Linked DNA regions of Homo sapiens: region 1 is linked to region 2. Evidence: promoter capture Hi-C in 16 types of primary human blood cells and fetal thymus (Javierre and others, 2016). All regions are on one chromosome and are shown on one strand. The core of a region is centred on a gene start or on the middle of the fragment in contact, and the rest is flanking DNA. Distances in the headings are between cores, read along the strand shown.

Region 1 (2,700 bases), core at 130-2,629, 7.0 Mb after region 2:
TACCTTTCTGGGCCTCAGTTTCATCAGACTGGATAATCAGCATAAGATCACCTCAGATTAAAATAAATGATGCTATAAATTTTTATACCGGTTTGTGCATTACCTCAGTGTTCTTCAACTGTTACCAACCAAAGTAGTGCATCTCAAGATTTATTGAACATTCCTTTCATCTAGATAACTTGTTAAAATTGCAGATTTTGATTCAGCAGCTCTGGATTGAGCCTGAGATCATGCATTTCTAATAAACTCCCAGGTGATGCTATATACCACAATTTGAGTAGCAAGGGTAAAGAACACTGATGCAACTTAAGCTCTACAAAGCTTATAACTGTGGACTTATCTGTAATAAGTCTGATAGTCAGCAAACCAAACACACTACAGACTCACACCAGCACTAAATGTGTTTTGCCATTCCTTAAACGCTCTGAAATTAACAGTCCCTATTTGAAGCTGATAAAGAAAGGAAAAAATATTACCATCAATAACACTAAATTAGAAGTGAGGTTACATACATACACACACACAGGTACAAATATATAACACAAAGGTCAAAATCCAAATAATCAAACATTACCTTACCCAAAATTTGAATATTTTTATTGCTGAGAAAAAAAAATTTTGTTTCTGGAAAAATCTTCAGTGTATTTTAATAGCCACATGCCTACAAGGATCATGCTGCATTCTGGTTTGATTCCAAATGCAAATATATTCAAACATCACAAAATCTAAAAATTGTTCTATTAATGATCAGATAATCTTTACATATTTGTTTAAAACCTCTAACATTACCACAGCCAAATGTGTTTGTGGTGAAAATTCTCTTTGGCCTTAGAAGTTCAACTAGGGCGGAGACCACCCTCCTACCCTGAGACTATAATATATGGCCACAAGCCACTACTATAATTAATTGTTTCTACTATACCCTGTGCTAGGTTACTGCAGAAACAGAGAAAATACCAGTCCCATCATAACCAAAAGGGAAAATGTTTCTACTTTCACCGAAATTTTCCTCAGTGATGAAAGATGTAATATGTGTCATGCAATGGATGTCTCCTATAGAAGAGTCACCCTGCCCTTAATCTGAAGCTCCTCTACTGAACAGAGAAGTTTGAAATAACATGAAAATGGAGGAAGAAAATTCCTATCCCAGGAGGGGGAAAAGCATTATGGCTACAAACTATTCTTCCTTCTGAAGAATAACCGAAATCTGAAGGGCACTACCGCGCTACAACTGAGCTCGTTTAAATTATGGAGGGGAGGAGGTATGTCAACTGCAACCTTGGCACTAGTAGGTAATTTACCAGTCCTTGCTATTTAGTCAAATCACTTTCAGATAGTACTTCTCTCATTCACCAACATGTCACAAAATAATAAAGAAAAAATGACACACGTAATAAGCAAAAGTAGTTTTGCTGAATCACAAATACCCCCAAATATAAATCTACAGGAGTCGCTGAGCTTGAGAATTGGCGGCCATACCTCTCCATGAAGCTCCTCTCTATAAACGGACAACTACCTTCACTTTTTCATTAAAAGCATGTAAGGGTCTAATGTTTAAAGCTATCACACTATTGCTATTAGCAACAAGGTCGCGTGCGCAGTAACAATGCACAACGGTCTTATACTCGAGATAACCACTTTATCTCAAAATTTGCACCACCTATCCCCCAAGGGCAAATGCATCACCCAGGTCCGCAACCGCGGTCACGATGGGTACACTCGCCTCTGCTCAGCCTAGCATACGGTCCCTCCCACCCCGCACCCTGATTGCTCCACTACCATGCTGCCCACTCCCGGGCTGCCTCGGCCAGCCCCCAGTTCCCCGGGTTCCTAAGGTTGCGCAAACAGCCAAGTCTGCAGGCCGCCCTTGCCTCGCTACCGTTATCCCTCATCTCCTGGTAGCCCCACTTTCCTCCCGCCTCTCGGGACTCGGGTGCCCAACCCACTCCCTTCCACTCCCGCGCGCTCGGTGGCTCTCGGGCCGGGGCCTCACCGTTTGGTTCGGTCGGGAATTGCCCGGCCCTCCCGCTCCCACTTCCCAACACGAAGTGGCGTCGGTTGGTCCCTCTCCCCACGCTGCCAGACCCCACGCCGCCGCCTACTGATGCCGAAAGCGGCTTCTAGGAACACGCCATGTTTGGCGTCGCAGCTCCAAACGACGCGGACGCGCGAAAACTACGTCACAGGAGACCAGCGCGCATGCGACCGGCAGAGAGAGAAGGCGATAGGCGAACGGCGGGAAGGGGAAGGAGGGGCTTTGTCTTTGAACCAAAAGGCGCGGGGTATCCAAATCAGTTGTGTGCGCTTGCGCAGTGCGCTTGCGCAGTATAAAGAGCCAGGAGTCCGGACTAGCCGGATCTGTCACCATGGAAACCATAGGTCTGGTTTCTCCGACTCCCAGGGAGCTCAATTGTTTCCTGCGTTGATTGAAGCTTCAATCAGAACCATTTCACGCTTTATATTCTAGATATCAATAGCGGATCCGTCACAGCAGAGAAGAGTTATTTAAAGAATCTTACTCCCATCAGTCCACCCTCCCTCCCGCAAATATTTATTTTTTAAGTTACCCAAATTGCTTGGCGCTTACTCCTGAGTAATAGCAAGAGTGGAAAAATGTAAAAGGACATAAATCCAGTTCTGCTTGCCTCTGCTAAAAGCTAGCATAGTCACCTAAATTTTCTTATCCTTAAAAAGAGAACT
Region 2 (2,700 bases), core at 1-2,500:
TGTTCAGCCCTCCGCCCCAAATCGTTCACGATTAGAGACTGTGACGTTTCAAAAGGTATACAGGTGGAAAAAAAACACCTATTTGAGTAAATATAGTTTGTAGCTCGAAATAAAAGATGCAGACCAGGGGCCGGACGCGGTGGCTCATGCCTGTAATCCCAGCACCGTGGGAGGACGAGGCGGGCGGATCATCTGAGGTCAGGAGTTTGAGACCAGCCTGGCCAAAACATGGTGAAACCCCGTCTCTATTAAAAATGCAAAAATTAGCCGGGCGTGGTGGTGGGCGCCTGTAATCCCAGCTACTCTGGAGGCTAAGGCAGGAGAATCACTTGAACCCAGGAGGCGGAGGTTGCACTCCAGCCTGGGCGACAAGAGTGAGACTCCGTCTCAAAACAAAACAAAAACAAACAAACAAACAAAAAAAGGTGCAGACTGTTGTCACGGTCAGGTCTCTATTCACTCTTGAAAACAAGATTGACAATTACCTCCTTTAAAAAGCAGATAACTGTCCCTGAAGATGCGAGGTTACTGAAATGAGATGTCAGAGGTAGACCTTCAAGACTATTCCTAGCCGACCCACCACCACCCCACACAGTGAACAGGGAATACTAAGCTCAAATATTCGTCCAACGTAATCCTGTAATCAGTGGGGTGCCGGGTTGAGCTCGCAAATCCCCGCTGCAGGACAGGGCTCTGCACCCTCAATCTTCTCATCCCCAGATGGGATGGGCGGGTCGGGAGGAGGAGCGACGAGAGCCCAGGAAAGCTTGAAGGCAGAGATAGACTCACGTCTCTAAGACATATACATAATATAGCCGCAACCGCGGCGGCCTTACTTTCCCGGAGCTGCATCCCCTTTTAGGCGAAGAGCGGAGGCGACCAGGGACTACCCTAGGTGAAAGGGCAGCCACCTGGCCCTACCCGGGCTCAACGCCGAGCCTCTCGGAGGTACGGCCTCCCGGGGACCTTCCAGACTGGTCGGCGCAAGCGAAGGGCGGGGACCACCGAAGGAGTGTGTGACTTAGGCATCCAGCGCACTGCCTGACCCGAAGTACCGACCCGAGTTATGCCCACCCTCCAACTTTGCGACGGAAATGTGTCATCGAAAGCCAGGTAACCAGTGGGCCGCGGCTGGGCCGCCGGGGCAGGCTAGGGGCGCCGCGGTGGGCTTCGGGGCCTTTGGGGCCGTGGGCTTTTGCTGCCGCCCGCCCCTTCCGGCTCCTCCCTGTAGAGCAAAGGGCACGTGAGCGAGGCGCCCGAAGCCGTCGCGGCGGGGACCATGTTGCTTCCGAACATCCTGCTCACCGGTCAGGGCGCGCGGCCGGGAGGGACTGGGCTGGGGCAGGCTGGGGGCGCAGAGTGCTCTGGGCATCGGGCGCCCAGGTGGGGGCCCCTCACTGCCCTCTTCAGAGGCCGGCCGAGGGCCACGAGGCGGTTGTCAGCGCCCCGGGAGCCGACCCTCGCGGGCGTTGCGGGAGGCGAGGGAGGGGACGCGGAACGTTAATTCCGTTGGCCTGAGGCTCCGGGGGGGGGCGGGGGGGGGTGGAGAGAGGTCGGCAGATCCAGCTCTCCAGCTTGGCAACCTGCTTAGTCTTTCTGAATCTGGTATTTCGTTTGTAAAATGGGTTGTTGATTCTTTGGCAGGGTTGGCCTTGGGATTTTTAGCGAAATAACGTAAGGCCATATCTGCTTCCCGGTAGAGTCATTAATGGTGGATGCCTCACTCCTTAGGCCTCCGTGGGCCGTATTTTATTTTTTCTTTGCTTCTGATAAACGCCTCAGATTAGATTTCGGTAAACGAGTTCAGATGTTTGTGACGTGACGAAATTGCTGTATGCTTTTGTTGAGTTACATCAAAGGATCCCCCCGCCCCTTAAAAGGAAGGCATATAGAGCATTTCGGGTCGTTTCTCGCGTAGGAGTGGGTCTTTGAAGCCATACTCAGGGTGCATGTTATCAGTGAAGGGAATTAAAATGCTGCATAACGACTTTAACGAATATTTTTGCTAGCCGTTTAGTCCTGAAAGTGTTTATCAAATTGTAGGCCATTCGTGGAAAAATCTAATGCATGTAGATTTTATTGCAAGGTACAGAAAAATTAAGACTCTTTGTGGGAACAGTAAAGTTACATCATTCACCCAAAGGTAAAATTGTTGGCAGCGCACAAGACATGTCTGTTTCTGAGAGGTGCAGATTAACCACCCCACAAATAACGTTTAGAATTTTAGATTCCTTAAGCGGAAGATTTTACATCTTTTTGCATGGATCAAACATAGTGCCCTGGTTATTAAGTCATTGTCAAAACTTTAAAGTGAACATTTTATTGAAAACATGTTGAGTCCAGGGTTCAGACTTGGTGTATTATAGTGGACTTGAGGTGACCGTTATTCTCCTGGGTATGGGAACTGGATTATCCCTGTTATCTTTATGCTTAAGTTTAATTTCAGGGATGTTAAATCTGAATAGCTGAAAATTATGAATTTGATGATCTTGAAATGTAATTTTAATAGGTATCAGAAGGGGAAGGTAAAGAACAATGTATATAGTATTGTCATTTATGTAAAAGGGAATATGTGTTGTATTTATATAACAAAGAGTATGTACATATATGTACATTTACATGCAAACATAAATAGGGTTTCTTTGGGAAAGGAAACTGGTTTACAGTGGTTATCTCTAGGGAAGGGCGCAAGGGGTCAGT

What was found. Contacts are between HindIII fragments. The CHiCAGO score rates a contact against its expected background, and 5 or more counts as called.
Region 1: a contact is called between a fragment that was not itself captured here and the fragment with the promoter of TAF9 in region 2, in 2 of 17 cell types (naive CD4 T cells and total B cells). The highest score is 7.5, in naive CD4 T cells.

What each region holds. Positions count from the first base shown.
Region 1 is chr5:62,412,223-62,414,922 of GRCh38, reverse strand. IPO11 (importin 11) reads right to left here and starts at 2,160. Exons shown (of 30, transcript NM_016338.5): 1 at 1,994-2,160. RefSeq lists a silencer at 1,670-1,719 and an enhancer at 2,050-2,239. The HindIII fragment of the contact is 2,111 bases long and covers 324-2,434 here.
Region 2 is chr5:69,368,070-69,370,769 of GRCh38, reverse strand. It overlaps TAF9 (TATA-box binding protein associated factor 9), which reads left to right and starts at 1,250. Exons shown (of 3, transcript NM_003187.5): 1 at 1,250-1,307. AK6 (adenylate kinase 6) reads left to right here and starts at 1,250. Exons shown (of 5, transcript NM_016283.5): 1 at 1,250-1,307. The coding sequence starts at 1,280. It overlaps RAD17 (RAD17 checkpoint clamp loader component), which reads right to left and starts at 952. Exons shown (of 19, transcript NM_133338.3): 1 at 837-952. RefSeq lists an enhancer at 149-698. The HindIII fragment of the contact is 4,867 bases long and covers 769-2,700 here.